3 separate regions of the Homo sapiens genome follow, and all the other regions are linked to region 1. Evidence: promoter capture Hi-C in 16 types of primary human blood cells and fetal thymus (Javierre and others, 2016). All regions are on one chromosome and are shown on one strand. Each heading gives the region's core, a stretch centred on a gene start or on the middle of the fragment in contact. The rest is flanking DNA. Distances are from core to core; before and after follow the strand shown.

Region 1 (4,250 bases), core at 812-3,311:
AGGCACTCCAGTGGGGGAGGTAATTAACAAGCCAGGTGCAGAGTCAGTGAGGCACTCCCATGTGTGCCATGTAAGTGGGACAGGGCACACTCAGGGAGAGCCCTGCAATGCCATCTGTGCAGTGACAAGGGCATGGGGGACAGTTCCAGGAGCAGTTTCCTCTGATGGGATGGTGCCCGGTGTGTCTGAGGAAGGACTGGAGACCTGCCAGCTCAGTGTTGGGGAGGGCTACCTTGTATAGTTACCTTCACCTCCAGCATCATCAAACTCCAGGGACCCCTGTAAGGCCAGAGCCTCTCGGCGTAACTCAGTGGGAATCAGGCGGTTTTCTGCAGAGGGAAGAGAGAGGGGCTGAGTGAGTCACAAGCATGGAGACCTCAGCTCATCCAATACACCACAGCTTATTAGCCTGCACATGCTTGAAATAAAAATACCTCAGCCCTTTCTGAGCTTGGATAAAGCATGGATAGAGGTGACAAAACTTTCTACAGGCCAACCCCCATAAACAGTGGTTACTAGGACTTCATTTTCTTTAGTCTCATGACTTGAGGACTTTCTAAAATATCTTAATGTACTGTATTGCTTTTATAATCAGGTAGAAATCTAAACATCGATTTTTTTTTTTTTTGAGACGGAGTCTCGCTCTGTCACCCAGGCAGAGCAGTGCAGTGGTGCCATCTCGGCTCACTGCAAGCTCCGCTTCCTGGGTTCACGCCATTCTCCTGCCTCAGGCTGGCGAGTAGCTGGGACTACAGGAGCCCGCCACGGCGCCCGGCTAATTTTTTATATTTTTAGTAGAGACGGGGTTTCACCGTGTTAGCCAGGATGGTCTCGATCTCCTGACCTCGTGATCCACCCGCTTCGGCCTCCCAAAGTGCTGGGATTACAGGCGTGAGCCACAGCGCTCGGCCTTAAAAATTACTTTTGAAAAGAAATATAGACTGTTCTGTACGTATGATGGTGGACCAGAGACCTTTAAGCTCTCAGACAGCAAAACCGTTGGTCACGATGCCCACAGCGCTTCGAAGGCATGGCTTCAGCGGGCCCTGGACCACAGGCTGCCTACCGCAGAGCACAGCGCTCCAGGTGCGCACTCGGGGCCAGCACTGTTCCCCACGGAGCTCAGAGGAACTCCTGCAGGGAGGATGGGCAGCGCAGTCTGCAGCACCAGCGCTATCCAGATAGTCTTTAGAGAGAATTTCTTTTTTTTTTTTTTTTTGAGACGGAGTCTTGCTTTTTTGCCCAGGCTGGAGTGCAGTGGCAGGATCTCGGCTCACTGCAACCTCCGCCTCCCGGGTTCAAGCGATTCTCCTGCCTCAGCCTCCTGAGTAGCTGGGATTACAGGCGCGTGCCACCACGGCCGGCTAATTTTTGTATGTTTAGTAGAGACGAGATTTCACCATGTTGGTCAGGCTCGAACTCCTGACCTCATGATCCGCCCGCCTCGGCCTCCCAAAGTGCTGGGATTACAGCAGTGAGCCACCGCTCTAAAGAGAATTTCTACAGGACAAGATAAAGTCTTTAAAACTTGGGACGAACTTGACACACTGCACACAGCGGGCAAGCTGCAAAACCCGGGTACTGCAACGTCAGTGACAAGTAATTAATACCATCACACGGAAGAAACACTCTCAAAACCAACAGGAGAACCCAATGGGCAAGGAAAACGGCCGGCAAGCATTTGGAAAGACGCTCGGATATTCGAACACAAATGCGTGCCGGGGTGGTTTACCACGCAGACGCCCGCGGGGCCGATGCCTTACCTTCCAGCGCGCGCCGCAGCCGCTCCTTCCTCTCCTGGGCTGAGCGCTGCGCCTCCTCCCGGGCCTTGCGGTACAGGTACTCGCGGCGCAGGCGGGCCTCGCGGCGCAGCTGTGGGAACAGCAGGCCCAGTCACTCACTACTCGCTCCCGAGCCCCGGAACCCCGGAGCCCCGGAGCCGCTGAGCCTCCAAGTCCCCAGAGCCACATCCCCAGCACTTCACGCGCCCCGGACCTCCGAAACAGGAGCTCATTCTCCTACCATCTTGAGTGCCGCTTCCACGTGGGTCCGGGAGAATCTGTGGGCTCCTCCAGCGCGACACAGTCCTCACTTCCGCCCTCAACCAAGATGGTCCCTTAGACGCTTCACTGGTGCCTGCAGCTGTGGGGAATGCCCTATGTTAAGATGGCGAATAGGGCGGGGACATCTCAAGGCGATTGGCCATTCCGGCAGGGCGTTCTCCTTGGGATAACCGATAGACTGGATACAGAATGTCACACGTGACTTAGGACCGCAGCTAATAAATATGTCCGCCCAGGCTTCTCCATCCTCGTCCTCCCCCCACCACCGCCGTGCAGAATGCAGTTTTCAGATGACGAACCGCTAAAACAATCATAATTAGCGGCTGGAAACAGTTCAACTGTAAAAACCGCACACCGACTGAAGGTTGCTTGCCGGCTCCTTTCCAAATTAACTTTAAAACCACTCTTCCCTCAACCAAAATGGTTTCTGTAGAGCTTCGCCTTCTTCCATCGCCACAACAGTGGCGCGACTTCTAAGATTCGGCAGCTTCCGGAAGGACTCAGAACCACCTATAACCCTAGCCGACAGTTCAGCAGGCTGATCCACTTGGGGGCTAATTGGAGAAACCAGTTGATTGGTTGCTTCCGTGCTGCTTCTCTAAGGGCGCTTGCCCTTAAAGAAGCTGACCCAGAGGCCTTGGTGCTGCCGGCGTGGGGATCCCCAGATGGGAACGCCCCTTGATGGAGGATCTCGTGTGCCTATTGGCTGTCCTGCCAAACTGCGGAGGGTGACAAGGAAGAAGGTGGCTCCAGATCTGGAGGTGTGTCCATGGCGGCGCTTGACCTGCGAGCGGAGCTGGATTCGCTGGTCCTGCAGCTGCTTGGGGACCTGGAGGAGCTGGAGGGGAAACGAACGGTGTTGAACGCCCGGGTGGAGGAGGTAGGCGCCTGGGGCGGGCAGGAGGGTACACGGGCGTAAACTGAGTCTCACCGCTTTCCTCTCCCTGCAGGGCTGGCTCTCGCTCGCCAAGGCTCGCTACGCGATGGGCGCCAAGTCGGTAGGGCCCCTGCAGTATGCTTCCCACATGGAGCCCCAGGTCTGCCTCCACGCCAGGTGAGGAAGCTTCCATGCTGGGCTGGGTGGGCGGGCGGGCGCGTTCTAGGCCCGGGCTGCCAAAGCTCCATCCTCCCTTCTCGTCCTTCAGCGAGGCCCAGGAGGGACTCCAGAAGTTCAAGGTGGTGAGAGCTGGTGTCCACGCCCCAGAGGAGGTGGGGCCTCGCGAAGCAGGTGAGCCCCCTCTTCCTTCTGCAGAACCCCTTCCCAGTGTCAAAGACAAAATGCAAATTATGGAGATGATTTAAATTAGGTTTTTGCGATAAGAGAGAGCATCCCAGAGCAGAAGAACAGAATGTTTTTGTAGGGTGGTTTTGCCTTAGACTTTTATAGGAAGTAGAGAAATTGTTGGTGAGTTGCTTTACACTGGGAATAGATTTACAATCACATACATTTCAGTCAGCTGAACAGAAAATATTTATCTGTGTGTCTAGCTAGTTTCAGAGGGACAAACTTCTAATCCCAGTTAATCATCCTGAGACAAAGAATGGGGAGTTGGAACGTCTATGTCTGGTCTGTTGGCATGTTCAGGTACAATGGGTAAGATCAGTGTCACAGGCAAACAGGGTCATCAGTGGGTCTTACAGGAGTCACGGGAAAGAGTGGACAAACAGTCTCATCTGAATCACAAGGGGAAAGGCTGTGTTTTGTGGTAAGCTGTTTCCTGGAACCCCAAAGTTGGAATTTTCCAACCAACAGTGTTTTATAGAATCATGAGCTCAGATCAAGCTCAACATTGTCACCAAGATGATAAAGGTCAGGGAGTAAGATCCCAGCCTCCTCCAACCTTTCTTTCCTCAGGTCTGCGGAGGCGCAAGGGCCCCACTAAGACCCCAGAACCGGAGTCCTCTGAGGCCCCTCAGGACCCCCTGAACTGGTTTGGAATCCTAGTTCCTCACAGTCTACGTCAGGCTCAAGCAAGCTTCCGGGATGGTGAGTGGACCGTGTTGTTTGGCTCTGTGGCCCTCAGACCCTCTATCCACAGGGAACACTTGAGCACTGCTGCCATGGCTGGGGTTAGTCTGTGAAAGGCTTTGCAGGTTTTCCTCCATCCAAACTTCCGTTGTACACCCATTATTTTTTCCAAAAGCATTTACTGGTTGTTGGCAGCATTCGGGTTCATGCTAGCTGCT
Region 2 (4,250 bases), core at 750-3,249, 470 kb after region 1:
CGAATGCTGGTCAGTTGTTGTGTGTATACTACAAGTAAAAGGGAGGGGGGATAATGAGGCATGTCTGACCTCCCATCCTATCATGGCTGAGAACTCAGTTTTTAAGGTTTTTCTGGGGTCCTTTTGCCCAAGAGGGGGGTACATTCAGTTGGCAGGGGACTTAGGATTTTATTCGGCAGCTCACGCCTGTAATCCCAGCACTTTGGGAGGCCGAGGTGGGTGGATCATGAGGTCAAGAGATCGAGATCATCCTGGCCAATATGGTGAAACCCCATCTCTACTAAAAATACAAAAATTAGCCGGGCATGTTGGTGCATGCCTGTAGTCCCAGCTACTCGGGAAGCTGAGGCAGGAGAATCATTTGAACCCAGGAGGCAGAGGCAGTAGTGAGCCGAGATCGTGCCACTGTACTCCAGCCTGGGCGACAAAGGGAGACTCCATCTCAGAGAAAAAAAAAAAGAAAAAAAAATTTACAGATGTTATGAATACCGTACGTTGTGTAGGGATGCATATGCAGGTGAACAAATGAAACACAGCAAGGAATTGACTATGGTAAAAGTCAAGATGGTGGGCACCATGGGGGTTGAGGCAGGGGTCAGGGAGAGAACCTTGGCTTTGGCAGGCTCTAGGTCTTCACCTCGGTGTGGTTGGGCATGACTTTTACTATTATTGGGTGAATTATAAATATATGTTTTATGCACTTTTCCATGTGTGTCATTTTCATAATTAAAAAGTTTAAGGCCAGGCATGGTGGCTCACGCCTGTAATCCCAGCACTTTGGGAGTCTGAGGTTGGGGGATCACTTGAGGTCAGGAGTTTGAGACTAGCCTGGCCAACAAGGTGAAACCCTGTCTTTACTAAAAATACAAAAATTAGGCGGGCATGGTGACGGGTGCCTGTAATCCCAGCTACTCGGGAGGCTGAGGCAGGAGAATGGCAGGAACGTGGGAAGCAGAGCTTGCAGTGACCGGAGATTGCGCCACTGCACTCCAGCCTGTGTGACAGAGTGAGACTCCATCTCAAAAAAAAAAAAAAAAAAATTTGAATACATTATAAACTCAAGTTATAAACTTGGTATCCTTTGACCTTTAGGGATGACCTTTTTCCTGAAGAAACTGCTGCAGAATGAAAGCTCCAGGCGCTTGGGTGCAGCAAGTAGGCTATGCATTTCCCACCAGCAGGAATCTAGCTCCTGGCCAAGGTGAGCCACGCAGAGCAGCAGCCACGGGTATCATCCTCCCAGGAGGCAGATCCCAATTCGCGGAGAAGACCCGGCCAGCGGGAGGATGCCAGCCTCATCCTCAAGGCTGGGATTGGGACTCTTTCCAGAAGGAACGACCTCTGTGCTTGAGTTGGTTGGGGGGCGCAATGGATTCTTTAACACTGGGGAAATTCATACAGATGAAAGTGAGAGACACATGACAGTGAACTGTAAACATCAGCCAGGTCTTAGAAACGCTGGGGGAGGGACACACAAACCTTGTGAGAAGAAAAATAAGCTTTTGTGGAAGTGAGGTTTGGAGGCCAAGAGTCCTTTAAGCGTCTTAAAGGATCCACTGTGCATCCTTTGTTAGTGGTGGGTGTGCTTCCTCCAACACTAGCCTTTGGTTTACTTTTATGTGCCACTGGATTCTGTTGCTCCAGGGATACCAGGCTCTTTAGAAGCCATTCTAGCAGCTGGTCTCTGCTTGGGAATGTACAAGTGTTGGCTCTGGGACATGTAATCGCCTGTGCCTCCTGATGTGGTTTCCAAGCATCCACTGAGGTTTCTTTCACTTTGGGGGAAAAGATGAGAGGCCCTGTGCTTAAACAATTTGGAAGCAGAAATCCAAACACCAGGGACCTGAGTGCAGCAAGGGCAGGGTCCTGGGAGGGCCTCTCCAGAAACCGCTCTCCTTCTGGAGGGAGGATGGGGTCATCTTTGCTGAGCAGAAGGCAGCGATGGTTTCCTTTTAGATGCTGTGGGTGCCCCTGTCAGCAAGAACCCCAGTTGTGGCCTCAGGGGTGGGGAGGAGAGCTCTTTCAGTGTTGCCTTAGGTGTGTGTCTGTGTGTGTCCTAACCCAGTCCTTCCCACACTCCCCCACGTGCTGATCACGACGAGCACCTCTAAGGCTGGGTCTTTGCATTAGAAAGTTATTTGTTAGGGGTACAGGGGGCAAAGAAGGCACCTGGCACTCATCCTCACCTCCAACTCCCATGCTTGGGCAGGATGTCTTTGTCCCTGAGTGAGGTGACGAGCTTTGCTGGCCCCACAGTCTTACCTGCCTGGTCGGGTGAGCCAAGGGGGACCCTGTCCATGATGTCTGGGCCAAGATGTCCCTGTTGGCGACCCTGGAGGGTCCTCTGTCCTGCTGCTGCTCCTGTGGTCACGTAGGGGGTCTGCTCCTCATGGACCCACCACCCCCGTGTAGTTGTAATGCAAGTGAGGGGTTCTAATTTTGTCAGCTTTATCTTAGTGAAATAAAGGTTAATATCACAGAACCGAAAACAAAGCTTCTGCTCATTACTAGGGAGTTTCAGCTACTCCCTTTCCGCAAAACAATAAATCCAATCTTAACATTTTCAGCTTTCTCATGATTCTCACTCTCCCTTCTCAGGTGAGATAATCCTAACAATATTCTTGGAGAAATTCTATGTGTATGTGTGTGTGTGTGCGTGCATGCATGTGTGTGTAACTTTTTCCTTTGCCAGCGGGAATTAAACTTACTTGGTGAAAGAGACAGCAAGAAAACAAAAGGCAGTATTTAACATTTTAGGTGAAACAGTGGGGGTTTTAGACACGACAATGGTGATTACAGTTGATGGATAAATAGATAGCACTTTATGATCAATTACTCTGAGTATTTTAGAATATATGAATTGCCTTAGAGATATGTGCTCATGTGTATGTGTGTGTGTGTTTGTAGGTGAGTGTGTGTCAGATGTGTGTGCACATGTATGTGTATGGTTGTGTAGCCATGTGTGTATCAGCATTGGAACTGAATGACTAATATGCCAATCTGTCTTAGGTATGTTCTTTCCTTCTTCTATTATGGGCTGATTAATTAAAAACTAACCTGGTGGGCAGGTGTGGTGGCTCACGCCTGTAATCCCAGCACTTTGGGAGGCCAAGGTGAGCAGATCCCCTGAGGTCAGGGGTTCAAGACCAGCCTGGCCAACATGGTAAAGCCCTGTCTCTACTAAAAATACAAAAATTAGCCGGGCGTTGTGGTGGGTGCCTGTAGTCCCAGCTACTTGGGAGGCTAAGGCAGGAGAATTGCTTGAACCCGGGAGGTGGAGGTTGCAGTGAGCAGAGATCATGCCACTGCACTCTAGCCTGGGCAACAGAGTGAGACTCCATCTCAAAAAAAAAAAACAAAAACAAAAACCCAAAAACAAAAAACCTGGCTAGGCCGGGTGCAGTGGCTCACACCTGGAATCCCAGCACTTCGGGAAGCTGAGGCAGGTGGATCACCTGAGCTCAGGAGTTCAAGACTAGCCTAAGCTAGCACCCAGCTAGCCCTGAGAAGTAAATGAGCAGCTTGATAAGCAAGAAGGTAATAGTAGTCTAAAACAACAGGCCAAGGAAGTGGAAGTTAGAGTCAGATACTTGGTTCCCCTATAGAAACTGAACTTAACATCTTGACATACGTTCCTGAGTTGTTTTTCAGAAACCCAGACCCCCACCGAACTGATCTGTGGCACATAGACCTCTGATAAGGGGGAACTGAAGACTGAATTCTGGACTACCATCCTTTGTTCTAAATTTCTTCTTGAAGGGCCTGGAGGGAGTCACACATGTGAGCCAGAGCTAACATTCTTTCCTGATGGACCCTAAATTTATAAACAAAGCTTCTTTTCATTAACTAATTGCAAATCAGAAAATCTTTTAATCTACCTATGACCTGTAGGCCCCATCTCTACAAAAAAACAAAAAAACAAAAAAGAAGAAAGAAAAAATTAGCCAGGTGTGATAGTGCATAGCTGTAGTTGCTTGGAAGGCTTAGGTGGGAGGATAGCTTGGAAGGCTTAGGTGGGAGGATCGCTTGAGCCCAGGAGGCGGAGGTTGCAGTTAGCTGAGATTGTGTCACCATACTCTAGCCTGGGTGGAGTAGAGACTATGTCTCAAAACGCAAATGAACAAAAAACTAACCTGGCTCTAAAAATTCAATTTTTCTCTCAGTGAAAATTTTGGGATTGTGCTTCTGCATCTTTTAAGTGTGTAAGATTTTTGCTAGCTTCACCAGACACAAGAACCTAGGAGCTGCTG
Region 3 (4,250 bases), core at 602-3,101, 460 kb before region 1:
TGAACCTTACAGAAAGACATGGAGAAAAAGGCATTTGTCAGATCAATAGCTGCTTACTGTGTTAATTTGCTGAAGCAGTGAAACCACAGCTGGTACAACAATTGCAATAGGAGTCACCACTTGGTTAAGCTTACAAGAAGCCACTGTCATTGTCTGAGATCTATCTCTCTTTAGCACAGGCCAGATAGGAGGGTTGAATGGGGATGTGGTGGGAATCACCACTCCTGTATCTTTTAAGTCCTTGATGCTGGTGCTAATCTCCGAATCTCTGCAGTCTCTCTAGAATGCAGCAATGCTTTTGGTTTTCTTAGGCAAAGGCAGCTTCAGTGGCTTTCATTTGGATTTGCCTATCAGAAGAGTCCTCAGGGAACCAACATGGTACTCTGCTAGCTACTAAGTACAGCCACGTATCACATAACATTTCGCTCAATGGTGGATAGCATATATGATGGTGGTCCCATAAGATTATAATACCATACTTTTGCTCTACCTTTTCTTTTTTCTTTCCTTTTTTTTTGAGATGGGGTCTCACTCTGTCGCCCAGGCTGGAGTGCAGTGGCGCAATCTTGGCTCACTGCAAACTCTACCTCCTGGGTTCAAGTGATTCCCCTGCTTCAGTCTTCTGAGTAGCTGGGACTACGGGCACCCACCACCCACCACGCCCAGATAATTTTTGTATTTTTAGTAGAGATAGGATTTCACCATATTGGCCAGACTGGTCTCGAACTCCTGATCTCAGGTGATCCACCTGCCTCGGCCTCTCAAAGTGCTGGGATTACAGGCACGAGCCACCGCGCCCGGCCTGCTGTACCTTTTCTATGTTTAGATACACAAATACCATTGTGCTACAGTTGCCTACAGTATTTAGTACAGTAACCTGCTATATAGGTTTATAGCCTAGGAGCAATAGGCTATCCTATATAGCCTAGTATGGAGGAGGCTATACCATCTAGATTTGTGTAAGTATGCTCTATGATGCTTGTACAAAGACTAAATTACCTAATGATGCACTTCTCAGACTGTATCCCCACCGTTCGGTGAGTGACACATGACAGTATGTTCCAATTATGCATTCTGGAACTTAGGAAATAACCGCATAGACTGAGCCTGGGGACCCAATGGGCCCACTGTGAGATGGACCTGAGCTAAAACTCCCTTGACCACCTGACCTCCGTAAGCCCCTGGAGGGCCACAGGGATGCTTCTGGTCTTCTGGAATGAATGTCAGTTCAGAGCCAGTGTCCCAGAGTGCCTGAGAGGTCTGATTATTTTCTTTTTCCTAGTACACAATGACCCTGGTAAAAGGTCAAAGGTCTCTCTAGGGAAGGCTGAGAGAAAGATTAACAGTAGAGGTTTTTGATAGCATACAGGATCCTTTCTGGAGGGGACTGTGCTTCCCCTGCATGGACCATGATGTTCTATTTTCATGATTCAAGTAAGATTTTTGTTAACTCGACCTGGAAGTTTTCTGCTTATACAGATTAAGAATTTAATAGGTATGAAAGTTGATCATAAATGTGTGATTCTTGTCACACCCAATTAAATCTGAGTTGAGGGCCAAGGAGGGAAAAACACTCAGGATTTATAACATCGCTTCAGAAATGCAATTTTCTGCAAGTCCAGCAGCCAAAACTGTCTATTGTAACCTGAGACCAGTTTTGTCTATAGCTTGTGGAATATCTTGCCGCCAATGTAGGGCTCATTGTGTCCACTGCTATCGTTCACCAATCAGCTTGCTAGTCCCAAAGCTTTACTAATACAAATAAACTTTCTCTCAAGACCACGAGCAACATTCCTCTATTCTATAAAATCCCCAACCTGCTCTTTGTTCTTTGGACATACTGAAAAACACCTGGTCTGTGTGTATGACCCAAATTGCAATTCTTATATCCCAAATAAAATGTTATATTTAGAGATTTGTCTCTACCTTTTAATGTTGACTTCAGTACAAGCTTCCTATCTATTTCACTTCTAGGAACGCCATAATCAACTATCCAACATCACATATTCACACAAGTCAGACTATTCTGATTGTTACTTTGTCTCTTCTGTCCATTATGGTAGTCACACCCACCTTGTCTTAGGTGGTTGAGTTCCCCTCTTGGCTCCTCCCACCCTGAGATCAGTTGCTGTCATTGCATTTAATTTTCCAATTGAGTGACTGTGGTTCCCACTGTAAGGTCTGCCCAGAGAGAAAAGCAATGAAACAGCTCTTGAAGGATGCTGGGGCTCCCCTCACAAACCCATTTCTTACAATATTGGTGAAAGGTGTGTCTGGACTAGTGTGGGTAAGTATGTCTAAAATGGCAAATCTACTCTAATTCCAATCTCTTCAATTCCCTTCCTCTACATTAAAACAAGGGATATCTGGCACCTCCAACTTGCTCATTGTAGGCCGCCTTTTAATCTGTTTCCCCTAACCAACTAAACTATTAGGTCTTTTTTACACGCCCAGGGCTGCAGCATTCAGTGCAGAATCTCTGCTTAGTGGGCCCACATCAATACATTTGGCCTGATCCGACTTTATGGTCTTTCCACCATTATCCTGCATGTTTAATGGATCCTTAAGATCCATTTCCACACATTTACTGGATTTCTGCCTGTATGAATTAGAAAACTCAAGTAGTTCTTTTGGATTGTGGCACACCTCCTCCTGGGTCCTGCTATGTCCTCACCTTTGGGGGCCTGCTGGGCCTTGAGTCTAGTTATAGGTCTAGTAAAGACAGGTGGGTCCTAAGGAAACTCAGCATTGTCTTGCATGACAACTGCCTCAGGGGAGGTCTTTATCATTTCCTCCAGCAATGCAGGGTTAATCTCCTCAGGCCAAGGCCAACACCACGAAGGGTGTGAAGGCTGCTTCCCCTGGGGATGGGGAGGCTAGTTTTGCTGTGGATGGGAAGACAACTCCCGTGGGCAAAGAGAATTCATCAGAATTTAGGAGCTCAATGTCTCCCAGTTTCATCAGGATATTCCCATACACCCCCATCCCAATTTACAGGTTGTCATCCTCTCCCAATCAATACCCTCACTTTAATAGTAGACATCCTGGGAGGCTGGGAGTTCAGCTTTTGCTGTAATTCAGCCAGTCACATGGTGAGGACTTGTGTTTGATTTTCAGCAGTTTCAACCCTGTGGCTACAGAGGGTCATCCCTCATGGTGGCCCTGACAGGGCGTGGGGGAGAGAGGCTAGGGCATCTGTGGTCTTCTTTTGGGAGATATGGGGCTCACCCTCTGCACTTTGCCTAAGCTGCATCCCACACTTTCTGGGCAACCTCCTATGTCTCAACTCCTGGCCCTGCTGTGCCCCCAGAAGGCTCCTCTTGACAGGCCACCCTCTTAGGCAGGGTCCTTTTGGGATGACTCACACCTGATACCTTGAGGACCAGCATCACTTGCAACCTTGTCTGTCCACACGGTGCACCTGAAGCGTCTCCACTGCCAGCCCTCTTCCCAGCTTTTCCAGCAACGGATGTCCATAGCCTGCCCTCCTACCCAGGAGTGGTGTCCATCTCTGTCTCAGGGATGCTACTGGTCTGTTTGCTCACAGCAGGGATGGGCCTGCGAGTGCCGGCGCTGAGCAGGCAGCCTGCAGCCCTGAGCCGGCTCCCACTTCAGGGCCATAGAGGGCGGGGAAGGGGGCAGGGCCTGGCAGAGGCTGGAGATGCTTGGATGGGGGCCAACAGCAGGGGGATGGGGGAAGGCAGCGCCTAGCAGCTATCCTTGAAATGAGTGTTTTCGCAGCCAAAGCTCAGGTGTAGGCCCACTCCCCCATGCCACGGCCTTTTGAACATGTGGAACCAGGACTCGGAACGTCCTGTTTTAAAGTGGGAGGTGGGCTGTCACTGGCAGGCGAGAGCTGCCGCCGCGCCTCTGCGAGGCTCCCCATTCCTGCGACCCTATCACATGTGGAAGGTGGGTGGGAGGGTGGTGGCGCGGTTGATCTGATCTCTGTCCCAAATAAGGCTCTTGAGGAGGACGCAGGGCACTTCCAGGGCGAGGGTGCCGCTGGGCTCTGACAAGCCCTTTGGGGACTCGTGGAGTCGTGGGAATGCCAGCTGACTCAGCGAGGGCGGCCTTGGCCACAGCAAGGTACCCTTCCCTACTTTCTGTCTTTCGTGGTGAGGCGATTTTAAAAACGCAGTCTGAGCAGCCCTTGCCATTGTCCTGCTGTGTACCCAGCACTTAGTGTGTCAGCTGGTCCGTGTGGACGGCCCAGTCCCTCCAGTGGCATCCCTACCGGTGACCCCTCC

The links. The method cuts DNA at HindIII sites, captures the fragments that hold promoters and counts their contacts. A CHiCAGO score of 5 or more calls a contact.
Region 2: a fragment that was not itself captured here is called in contact with the fragment with the promoter of IMP4 in region 1 in 1 of 17 cell types (total B cells); the score reaches 6.5 in total B cells.
Region 3: a contact is called between a fragment that was not itself captured here and the fragment with the promoter of IMP4 in region 1, in 3 of 17 cell types (non-activated CD4 T cells, naive B cells and total CD8 T cells). The highest score is 8.1, in non-activated CD4 T cells.

What each region holds. Positions count from the first base shown.
Region 1 is chr2:130,340,708-130,344,957 of GRCh38, reverse strand. It overlaps IMP4 (IMP U3 small nucleolar ribonucleoprotein 4), which reads right to left and starts at 2,061. Exons shown (of 9, transcript NM_033416.3): 1 at 2,023-2,061; 2 at 1,764-1,872; 3 at 246-329. The coding sequence starts at 2,025. It overlaps VMA22 (vacuolar ATPase assembly factor VMA22), which reads left to right and starts at 2,794. Exons shown (of 5, transcript NM_032357.4): 1 at 2,794-2,943; 2 at 3,014-3,117; 3 at 3,209-3,291; 4 at 3,919-4,050. The coding sequence starts at 2,833. RefSeq lists enhancers at 2,029-2,198, 2,329-2,878. The HindIII fragment of the contact is 8,635 bases long and covers 1-3,128 here.
Region 2 is chr2:129,866,378-129,870,627 of GRCh38, reverse strand. LINC02572 (long intergenic non-protein coding RNA 2572) reads left to right here. Exons shown (of 6, transcript NR_149127.1): 3 at 1,093-1,201. Among named protein-coding and RNA genes, the nearest start is that of LINC02572, 9.0 kb to the left of the region's middle. The HindIII fragment of the contact is 995 bases long and covers 1,502-2,496 here.
Region 3 is chr2:130,798,387-130,802,636 of GRCh38, reverse strand. No RefSeq gene overlaps it. Among named protein-coding and RNA genes, the nearest start is that of ARHGEF4, 36 kb to the left of the region's middle. The HindIII fragment of the contact is 204 bases long and covers 1,750-1,953 here.